Regions from separate parts of the Homo sapiens genome. Here regions 2 and 3 are each linked to region 1. Evidence: promoter capture Hi-C in 16 types of primary human blood cells and fetal thymus (Javierre and others, 2016). All regions are on one chromosome and are shown on one strand. The core of a region is centred on a gene start or on the middle of the fragment in contact, and the rest is flanking DNA. Distances in the headings are between cores, read along the strand shown. Region 1 holds the start of NKX2-2 (NK2 homeobox 2). Region 2 has its middle 87 kb from the start of LINC03083. Region 3 has its middle 65 kb from the start of LINC03083.

Region 1 (3,752 bases), core at 687-3,186:
GGCACGGCCACCCGGCGCGGCGAGGGCAGGGGCGTCACCTCCATACCTTTCTCGGCCCGGGCGCGCTTCATCTTGTAGCGGTGGTTCTGGAACCAGATCTTGACCTGCGTGGGCGTGAGGCGGATGAGGCTGGCCAGGTGTTCGCGCTCGGGCGCCGACAGGTACCGCTGCTGCCGAAAGCGCCGCTCCAGCTCGTAGGTCTGCGCCTTGGAGAAAAGCACTCGCCGCTTTCGCTTCTTGCCGGCGTCCCCCCCGCCGCCCGGGGTCTCCTTGTCATTGTCCGGTGACTCGTCGGCCGAGGGCTCCGGGGACTTGGAGCTTGAGTCCTGAGGGGGCGCCCCGGCAGCCAGACCGTGCACTGGGGGGAGGGGGAGAGAGAAGCGCGTCAGGCGTCTGGAGGCCGCGCGCAGCCTGCACCAGACTCGGAGCACCCTGGATCCTCCGTGCGACCCTGGACCTCCGCGCCTGGCAGCCCAGCCCCGCTGCCTTTGCCATGACCCCTGCCTTCCTCTACGCCTGACGAAGACGTCGGGACCTCCCAGGGTAAAGAGGGAAATCCGTAGGAGTGGGGGCTAGGGGCTCGCCTTTCAAGGGGCTCACATAGTGTGGGTGAGAATTTGGGGGGGGAAGTGGCACTGAAGATCATCGCGGGTTAAGGGCTCCGGCGCCCTTAAGCGGTTTCCTCTCCGGCGAGACGTGGGCAGATTTTTAAAAGAAATACCCCACAATCCCAGCATTGATCGGCTCGGCCATTTAAGGCAGGTTTTTGGGGGCTTTCGTTTCTGCTTTCGGGCCTTCTAGACACCCCCTGCACTGCACAAAGCGTCCTCTATGATCGCGCAGGGGGCAGGGTGAGCTATTTATACCCGGGCCACCCGAAGCCTCCCCACCCTCCACCCGTACCCGGACGAGGCTCGCTGGCTACCTCCAGGGCGCCAGGCCAGTCCCTCCCAGCGGCCGGAGTCCGGGGGCTGCGGCTGGAGCCATCGGTCCGGGTTGACATCATATACCAGCCCCTGGGAGGTATAGCCCTTCTCCCTCTTTCTCCTTAACTTCTCGCATTGAAAAAAATTTTGGAGACCAAGTTCTTTCCCGGAACTAAGGAGGCTTGAAGAGGAGGGCAGAGGACATCCTATACAGGTGTTAAAAATCTTTCTACGGATCCGAGTGAGGGGGTCCGGGCTTACATGGCCCCTTCCCCTTTCACTCCCAGCGTCCAACCCGGGCTGCGGCTGCAGGAATGGAGGGGACCACGGCCTCGGCAGCCAAGTTTTGCTACTTACGGGAGTACTGAAGGCCCTCGGTGCTGGCCAGCCAGCGCGTGTACGGGTTGTCGCTGCTGTCGTAGAAGGGGTTCTTCAGGGGCAGGCTCTGCACCGCGTCCAGGGCGCCCTGCCCCAGCGGCCCGGCCCTCTTGGCTGGCTCGGGCCCCTCGTTCTCTTCCTCCGGACCTTCGGCCACAGAGCCCTCCTCATCGTTGGTGTCCGGCAGGTCTAAGATGTCCTTGACCGAAAACCCCGTCTTTGTGTTGGTCAGCGACATGGTTCGAGACCCCAAAATTTATGTCGCAAAGTTGTAGCTTCACTTGGTCAATTCGTGGCGCTCCCCTGCCCCGGCGGGCGGGGGAGGGGGGAGTTGGGGGGAGGGACTGGGGGAGGGGAGGGGGGAATTGGCTTTAATTATTGGGATAATTATTATTTTTAAAAAGAGAAAGAAACTGGGGATGGGGAGGAAAAAAATGAAGCCCAACCCAGTGCCTCTCTCTGTCTTCTTTGAAAGCACGCGGAAATGGACGCAGGAAGCCGGGCGGCCTGCGCGCCGAGCGCCGCGGGCCCCGGCCTTAGTTTCTAACTCCAGGAGGGGTGCCAAGGCGGCGTCAGCTCGGGCTCCGGCGGCCGCTCGGCGCGCGGTGGCGGCTGGTGGCGAGGAAAAAATGGGCCATTGCCCGAGCGATCAGTCCATATAAGGCTGGGCTCCACTCACGAACCTGGGGAGGCGGGGAGAGGGGGAGAAAGAGAGGGAGGGAGGGAAAGAAAGAGGGAGGGAGGGGGAGCGAGAGAGGGAGCGGGAGAAGGGTGGAAAAAAGGGGGAAGAGACATTAAAAACGCAAAGGTTGGCCACGTGTGGGCGGGTCTTGGGAGTCAAGTGGATGAAGACAGTATTTGCAGATGTGAAATTGTGGGTTTTGGGGAGCTCCGCGCTCCCAGCCAACGGCCCTCTAGAGCAAGATGAGAGGTGTAACGTGTCAATTAATTGCAAAGACGGGGCGAGCCTTTTTTTTTTTAAACCCAGTATTTACATACAAAGGGCCACCGCGTCGCTCGCGAGTCCACACACTTGAAAGGGCCGTTTTAACAAATTGCATCTTAAAAAAGGTGGGGGTGGGGAGGAGGAGGGGAGAAAACAAAACAGAAACCAGGAGGAGGGAAAAAATCCTCTTTAACATTCACCGGTTCCTACCTCCCCGCCCCCGCGCGCCCACCCCCGGCAAGCCGGAAAATTGGCGATTTGTGGCGCCTTTGGAAAAGGGGGAGGGGGCGAAGGCCGAGCTGCGGAAATCTCTCCTTTCCATCGTTGGTGGTTGCCTAAACAAGATCCGGTTCAAATGGCAAGAGCCCAACTTCTGTAAGCCTCCTAGGTCAATATTTTGGTTGAGGCTTAAGGATGAGTGCTAGAAATGACAAGGCAAGTAATTGATTCCAGTTAACCGCGAGAGAGCCCAAAACCCAGGAGAGAGCTCCGCTCCGGGCCGGCCAGAGCCACCACCAAGCGACCCGCCCCCTTCCAGCCGCCCTTTATTTGCTAAAGACTCATTTATTTCCTTCACTCCGCCTCCCCCCACCTCCCACCCCCAACCCCCCGCCTCCACCTCTCTGCGGCCAAGGAGGACGCGCAGTTCACTTTCTGCTTTGCGGGCGGTCCCGGGGAGGGCGGGGTAAGAGTGAGGAGCTCCAACTTCGTCTGGGGTCGGACCCTGGCCCTGCTGCCTCTGGGCTCTGCGGGCCTCTTTCCCCGGGTGGAGGAAAGGGCAGACGGCCCTGCTCTTTCCTGCCCTCTATTATCCCTCCCTCTCCGGCCCCCTCCCTCTCCAGCCTCTGGCTAGAGGTGGAGCAGCGGGAAGGCGGCGGGGCGGGATTGCGGGGGTGGGGGTGGGGGTTGTGTCTCCAGCCTGGGTGAAGACCCAGAAAGCTGCGGGGGAGGGGGGTCGCTGGGTGGCCCGACGATGCCTCGTTTTCTCCCCAGTTTTCTTCTCCCACGCGAGTTCTTTAGTGTGGTCTCTTTTTGGACGCCTTGGGTGCGTTCGGAGTACGCGCTCCACGTTTCCAGGTTAAGTCAGGTTAGTGTGAAGTTTCCAGCCACTCTCGGCTCTGGGAACTGAACTTTCCCGGGACTTGCACTTCCTCCTCGGCGCTGGGGTTGGAAAAGACCACGCCGCATTTGCCACCCCTTCTTCTAGTTAAAACTTTTTTGGGGGGGGGGTGCAGGGGTGTAGATTGGCTACCTGATGCTCGTTCGCCCCAGAGGAGTGTCAGGAAGGAGCTTTGTCTGGGGGCGGGGAGGGGCACAGAAGGCCACCCCTGCGGGGTCCAGGTCTAGTCTTCCCACAACCTGGGCTCCTCCGCGCGGGCCAAGCTGAGCGCGCGGGCACCGGGTCCTCCTCGCGCGCAGCTGCAGCGGACGCCGCCGCGCCCCAGCTGCCCCCGGGTTGCCAGCGCTGGGTGAGGGCACCTCTCCCCGAGCCGCTCGGCGGC
Region 2 (3,752 bases), core at 762-3,261, 630 kb before region 1:
AAAAAATAAAATTAGAGCCATACCTCACACCATACATAGAATAAATATAACCAAGATAATTAGAGGTCTGAATGTAAGAAAGGAAGCTGTACAAGCATTTGGAAAAGACACAGTGAACTCCTCTATAACCTGCTGTGGAGGAAGGGCACTGTTCTACAGTGGGCAGGTCTATGCAAATCTGCTCCAAAGTCCAAGGAAGCTGAAAGGCCCAAGAAAGAGGCTGGCAAATCCAGTTTCTTCGAAAGAAACACTTAATAAGGACCTGGGAACAGAAGTTGTGTCTATGTCTTGGGTGGCGATGACATAAGATGGTGGATCCCATGCCATCACCCCCAGACCCAGGGCTTCTATGCCATAGAGAAGGGGTGGTTCAGAAGGGATGTGTAGGATAATCGAAGCACAGTAATACCAAGGTTGTTTGGGATTTACGGTAAGGACCTGCTCCTATACAAGGAGCAATAGATAAAAGGGAAATCTTAGAGGCTTCTCAGAACAGGGGTTAATGGAAGCCAACCTGGCAGATTAGCATCTAAGATGGAGTCGCTTTGGCTCCACACGTGCTCTAACTGTGGCTAACATCTCTGCTATGGAGAGACTTCTTAACAATTGAAGGAAAAAAGAGCAAACATCAAATAGAAAAACACACAAAAACACAAACAGACAATTTGCAACAAAAGGCTATAAAAATGGCCTTTAAACACATGAAAAGATGTTGAAATTTGTTCATATTAAGAGAATGGCAAATTAAAATTAGGCTGAGACACTATTTCTCATCTATCTGATTGGAAAATATTGAAAAGCTCCACAACACACTCTATTGATAAGGCTGTTCGGGAAATAGGCACTCTCACTGCTACAACTCTTGAGCGGGAGCACTTGGAAACAGCTAACAAAACTACATATGCACTTGCCTTTGACCCAGATATACCGACTCTAGGAATTTACTCTAAAGACACACCTTTAATGATACAAAAATATATAAACACAAGGCAATTCATTGCAACCTGGTTTATAATTGCAAAATATTGATAACTACCTAGAGACCCAATCACGGAGAGTATTTGAATAAACTGTGGTATATCTACACAACGGAATATTGGGCAGCTGTGAGAAATATTGAGAAAGATTACTGTAAACTGCTATGAAGTGATTTCCAATGTTCAGTGAAGAAAGCAAAGTGCAAAAGAGTATCTAAAGGATGCTTCCTTTTGTGTAAGAAAGATTAAAAAATTATAAGCTTATTTGCTAATGTTTTGCATAAAGAAATACAGGGAGGATAAACCAGAAACTAACATGATTAGCTACCTCTAGGGAATGGGTTGGAACAGGATGGAAGAGATAGTGGGGTTTGAATGGGATGGAAAGGATTAGGCTGGAGAGGAAGAGACAGTGGGGCAGGAATGGAGTAGACTTAAAGAACCATGTTAATTTTTACAAACTCAGAAAAAAATTAAATGAACAATGTAGAAAAAATATTAAAATAAAATGTAAACAGAAACAAATAAACTTAATTGTCTTTTAAAGAAATAACCATCATGAATGGGAGGGAATGGTTGGTCCAAACCTATTATGGCCTGGAGTGCTTTATTTCCCTACAAGCCTACTTTAGCATGGGAGATGGTACTTTTGTACAGAAAGAGCCCTGAAGGAGAGGAGAGAAAACTTAGTAGAATGCATTTTTGAAACGATCCATCAAAGCTCTTATAGCACATGTTTTCATGGGTTCTTAGTGTAGGAGCAGTTTGAAGTGGATTTAGTTTTATGGATAATAAACATGAGGGTAAAGGTCACATCAGACATTTTGTTGCTAAAGGCAGGTGATACTGAGATTATGTAGACACACAGGTATGCAATCTACATATTTTTAATGTGAAGAGTCCATGAGGGTGAGTCCAGCATGCTAATTGCTTGATGCCACCAAAAAGTATAATCTTGAAACAGAAGCAAGAAATATCCAAACAGGCCCCAAATAAGAATTTTAAATGGCTTTTCCTCATCTTCCAAGTGGAGTTCTACCCACACAGATTTATTGAGTGCTTACTATATGCCAGGCACTTTTGTCCCAGGACAATAAGGGACAAGACCCTCATGGAGACAGACAAGGAAAAAGAAGACAATTATCAAAGAAGACAAATTTGAGGAGTGAGCAATGACTTAAAGACAACAGAGTGGAGGTGGGGGCCACTTGTGCTGAGATAGTAAAAAAAAAAGTCCTCATCAATGAAGAGACATTTGAGCTGAGATCTGAGTGGGAGAAAAGGCAGTGTGCAGAGATCCAGGGATGAGTGGACCAGGCAGAGGGCACAGCAGATGCAAAGGCCGTGGGGTAGAACCAGCGTGTTTAAGAAACAGAAAGAAAGCCAGCATGGCTACAGCAGAACAAACAGGAGCCTGGCATGAGATTAAGCAGGATCACATTATAAAATAATAAACCCACCCAGATAACGCTATATTCTTAAAAGACTGACCCAAATTATATTCTGGTTCCCTGAACCTGAAAATTGTGTTTCTACTTCATGAAAATTCCTATGCCAGAGATAAAACTTGAAAAGGATTTAATGAAAAACCTTTACTCTTTCCCTTATCTGTTCTGGTTTAGCTATTTCCTCAGAGGTTGTCAGGCAAGGAGAGGAAGCTAGCTTAATGTTTCAAAAATGCCATTACTCTATGAAGAGTGATGCTGCTTTTGCTAAGTCATGAGGGGAAAGGCTACTCTTGGTTGATGAAACTCTCGATATTTATTTATTAAATAATTGTTTAAGGCAAATGGGGATTTCTGCTGGAAGAAGCTTCCTATAACCCCACCTAGCAAAGTGGAGAGGCACAGGTGAAGAGAGCAATTTCATGGTTCATGCTGCTATTGATGCTTCGTCATGTCCTTTGAGAGCAAGACTCTTTTGTTCAAGTTTGGGGAAGGAAGTGTTTAAGTTTTAGGTACTGTCAAATTTGGCCATCCAAGTGGAAACCGGGGGGCTTTCTGGGAAGATAAGAGAACAGAACTGGGGGACTCTTCCTTGGTGACCAGGGAGACAGCTCCATTAACCACCATCCAATGCTTAAGAGGGAAGGACCCAACTCTTTACCGCTCTCACAAAGTCTGGTCCAGAACAATCAGAACCCAAGGTCATTTGCTGCATGAGCTCACCTTCTTCTTATGGTTGGAGCTGTGTTGATAATGAGATGCTCAAAGGGACCATTAAATGAATGCTTCCTGTGCATGGCTGTATACTTACAGGAGAGCTGAGGAGCGCACAGGAGACCAAGCACTCCACCATTTCTGCTTCACTGAGCACGGAGCCATCTCTCCTTCGCAGAGCAGAAGACATTGCTCCAGCAGGTACGACTTTAGCTAGTCCTGGCCCCCAGCCCCTGGGGTGCCCTAAGTCATGCTGAGTCCTGCGCCTGGAGAGCAGGAGCCCTGGGAGGAGCACTCCAGACACCTCCTTCTGGAGCCAGGGATGCCAGCCATGCCAGCGCTGGGCTATCCATGGTATCCAGGAGACAGAGCCTTGTTGACACTGCCAGTGTTTGTAAATCCCAAATGCATCTGGCCTCAGGAAAGTTGTTAATTTTAGGTGGGTTTTGGAGACTTTTTCATTAGCAGTGCGCCTCAACATACCCAGCATGAGGAGAAAATGGAAAAAACTGAAATGATTTGCCGCCTATTTCCATGAGGGCCCTGCTGTTTTCTGGAAGAGGTTCAGAGTTTTGATCCTTGTAAATTAGTTTCCAGCTCTACTTCAGGTGAAGTT
Region 3 (3,752 bases), core at 393-2,892, 610 kb before region 1:
ACCAGGACTATCCCAAGGGAGTTGGCAAATTTCTATGCAAAATCTGGGCATTAGTCTGAATAAATGAATGAACACCGAATACATGAATAAGCAAAGCAGAATGTACAGACTTCAGAGCTCTTGGCAACAAGTGCAAGCTGGGTCAGACATAAGAATAGTGGATGGAGCAAGAGAACAAAGTCACAGACTGAATATTGAGGGTTGCTCCAAGAAAGGGAGACTCCCAAGCACAGGACTGAGTCAGGGAGCTCTGTCTGGTACAAAGCCTCAGTGAGGACCAACAGATAAGGCCCCATGTCAATGAAGGCAGCTACCCAACTGGCTTCATCAGTGACTGGCTAATATTAGGTCCACTCCATTAACTAACCAACATTTCATGGAGGTCTCCAGAGGGACCTTTGGAGCATTTTCAGGTGTTCCAGAAACTAATTCAGAGTGTGCACATAGAAGTTAAATCGTTTCAGGTCAGGCCTTCCTCAGGGAGTTTGTCCAGAGGGAATAATGGGCCCATGCTGGAGCTGGAGGTGCCTCCAGGGCCACCAGCAACCTGCATTGCTCTGCAATTATCAGAAGCTCCATCTTAGTGTGAATTCACAGACCTCAAGACAAGGATATGGGTGCAAGAGAAGTGCAGGGAACACTGGAGAGAAGTGGGGAACTGAAACCTGGAAGTAACGACAGTCAATACATGGTGCATTATTAAGCCAGCTGTCACTTTGGACAACTCAAGCTTAATCTCATGGGAAAATTGGGAAACAGTGCAAAACACATGTCTCAGAATTACCCAGCTCTATTAGGGAGAGAGCTGGGGTATTGATACACCAAATAAATAAGAGTCATTGGCTGAAAGCTGTTTCTTGTGAGGGAGTGTTTATTCCTAGTACTTCTGTCCATGTATTTGTAGTTAGAAGTTGGCCAGAGCACACTGAAATAGTAGGGTCTGAGGTTTATCAGTTAGTTTCTTCTGCATAACAAACCACGTCAAAACTTAGTGGTGGATGATAGTATCTATTCTTTTTTAAATTAAAAAAAAAAATTTCTACCCCTTCTTCTTCTGAAAATAACCCTCTATTCTACTCACAATTCTGTGGGTCAAAGGTTTGGCATCTGCAGTCAGCCATCAAGTCCGCTGGTATCTACATGATCTAGCACGGCTTTACTCACATGTCTAGTGTGGACAAGCTGACTGTTGGGATAATGAGTGTGACTGGACCAGGCTGGTCTCAGCTTCTTCACCTGTTAATAGTCACCAGGTTCCAAGAACAACACAAACGTAAGCCTCCATGTGCAAGTTCTTTTGAGCCTCTGCTGTACTCCACATTTGCTACTGTCCCACTGACCAAAACAAGTTGCATGGCCAACCCAAACTGGTGTAAGATTATCAGATAAAATGTGATATGTCAAGTTCATTTTGAATTTTAGATAAACAAGAAATAATTATTTTAGTATTAGTATGTCCTATTGAAAGATGTGGTATTAGTCAGGGTTCTCCAGAGAAATAGAATCAGCAGGAGATGATAGATAGATGATAGATACATAGATAGATAGATGATAGATAGATGATAGATAGATAGATAGATAGATGATAGATAGATGATAGATAGATGATAGATAATAGATAATGATAGATAGATAATAGATAACAAATAGGTAGATAATAGATAGATAGATATGCAAGAGGAGGTTTTCATAGAAATTGGCTTACATTGTTATGGTTATGGAGACCAAGAAGTCCTACAATCTTCTGTCTGCAAGGGGAAGAACTAGAAAGCCAGTGGTATAATTCAGTTCAAGTTAGAAGGCCTGAGAATCAGGGGTAGGGGTGCTAATGGTGTACATCCCAATCTGAATCCAAAAGCCTGAAAAAAAAGGCTGAGCTCTGATGTCTAAAGGCAGGAGAAAATGGATGGGACAGCTCAAAAAGAGAGAGTGCATTTTCCTTTCCTCCAGCATTTTGTTCTATTTAGGTCCCCAAGGATTGTATGGTGCCCACCCACACCGGGGAGGGCCGTGTTCTTTACTCAGTTCACCGATTCAGACTCCGATCTCTTCCAGAAACTCCCTCCCAGGCACAGCTGGAAATAGTGCTTTACCAGCTACCTGGGCATCCCTTAGGCCAGTCAGGTAGACACATTAACCATCACAGATGTCTTCTCTGACCACCTTCCTATCCCATTTTTCTGTACATCACAGAGAGAATGCAATGCTTTTTCTTCTTTGTACTTTTCACATTTACATAAGTAGTTAGATATTTACGTGTTTGTTTACTAGTTTATTGCTGTCTTCCCTTCCAAATTGTAATCTCCATAATAGGGACCATCAGCATTTGAGCCTGGCACCAAGTGGAGGGCCTGGCATTCAATTAACACAGGCTAAACAAATGAATGAACAAACTAAAGAGCAGGCGAATGAAATAATGAATGCTGTGTGCAGTTGGCCTACCTCAGAGTTTGGGGTTCAATCCCCTCAGAGCCTTTGTCCCTTATGTCCAACCCACAGGAGCCTTGTTTAAAGATATAAATACCCTCCAATGTCAAGGTGACATCACAAATACTCAAGCTTCCATCTTGTGGTTTATTAAAAGGCTGGCTGAACCCTTCAATGCACTTAATTCACCATTACTTTCTTGTTCTTTATTCCCTCCATATGCATTGTGTGAGTTTGTGTATGCATCTTTATATAAATTCTTATTATTCAGGTTCATAAAATATCTTTTATGAGAGGAACTATACATGGCTGACCCAGATGCACACGAGGAAATGTTTCATTTCTCAAGAAGAGCCTTCTGTGCATCCCGCCACCCCCCTGCCATGTGGCTTACCCGGGAGACCTAATGGTTCTGAAAATTGGAGCAGCTGTTTGGCTCATAAATTACTGACCTACTGTGTGCATAACAAGTGGGACTTAAATATAACCAGCTGGGGCTATTTTTGTCAAAACCAGATTTTGAAATCCTGCATTCAGAAAAGCATTTGGGGTGTCTTTCTGATACAATTGTGTGTGGTTGTGTATCTATCTGTCTGTCTGCCCGTCTGTCTCTTTGTGTATGAAAAGAGAGGGGCAGAGAGGAACGTGAAGGGAAACTCAAGTAAGTGGATTTCATGTGCTTTATTAATCACAGACAAAACATATTTTCTTCTTTAGCAAAGCCAGGCTAGTTTATCTAACATTTGTCTAAAAAAAGGTCGCAGTTTATATTAAACCCAAATGCAGGGTCAAAAAAGCATGAACGTATAAAAGACCATGTTTACAAGAGAAAAGGCTGTCAAAGACTGGGCAAGGAGGACTGCTTACCTCTGCTGTAAAACTACCATTAGCACATTCTTCCTTCTATCATTTTTAATAGATATTAAGTGGTTTTAACCAAATCATTATGAATCTCAAAAGATTAATGTTTTAGAGTATATGATGATACTCTTTCCACAGCCCTTGGGAAATCTATAAACAACAAACTGTAAAGAGTGGTTACTAACTTTGGTGGAAGCTTATGGACTCCTTGGAAATCTAATGAAAGCTATGAACCCTCTTCCCAGAAAAAAAAATACACCCACAAATTTGCATACAATTTCTGAGGCTTCACTCACCATTTGAAAGCCATCCATGAATCCTAGGTTCAGAATCCTTTCTCTAAAAGAAATATAACATGTAATCATGTTTAAAGGACATGGAGTTCAAAGTCTTTAAAGAACCTTTGAAATAATTTAATCCGTACTCTCATATACGAGGTATGGACAGAGGTTTGGAGAAGATAT

Evidence for each region. Contacts are between HindIII fragments. The CHiCAGO score rates a contact against its expected background, and 5 or more counts as called.
Region 2: a fragment that was not itself captured here is called in contact with the fragment with the promoter of NKX2-2 in region 1 in 6 of 17 cell types (M1 macrophages, total CD8 T cells, naive CD4 T cells and 3 more); the score reaches 8.4 in M1 macrophages.
Region 3: a fragment that was not itself captured here is called in contact with the fragment with the promoter of NKX2-2 in region 1 in 1 of 17 cell types (M1 macrophages); the score reaches 5.5 in M1 macrophages.

Annotation. Positions count from the first base shown.
Region 1 is chr20:21,512,128-21,515,879 of GRCh38, forward strand. NKX2-2 (NK2 homeobox 2) reads right to left here and starts at 1,937. Exons shown (of 2, transcript NM_002509.4): 1 at 1,284-1,937; 2 at 1-358. The coding sequence starts at 1,542. RefSeq lists an enhancer at 3,634-3,752. The HindIII fragment of the contact is 7,883 bases long and covers 1-3,752 here.
Region 2 is chr20:20,881,851-20,885,602 of GRCh38, forward strand. No RefSeq gene overlaps it. Among named protein-coding and RNA genes, the nearest start is that of LINC03083, 87 kb to the right of the region's middle. The HindIII fragment of the contact is 1,552 bases long and covers 1,236-2,787 here.
Region 3 is chr20:20,903,832-20,907,583 of GRCh38, forward strand. No RefSeq gene overlaps it. Among named protein-coding and RNA genes, the nearest start is that of LINC03083, 65 kb to the right of the region's middle. The HindIII fragment of the contact is 1,829 bases long and covers 729-2,557 here.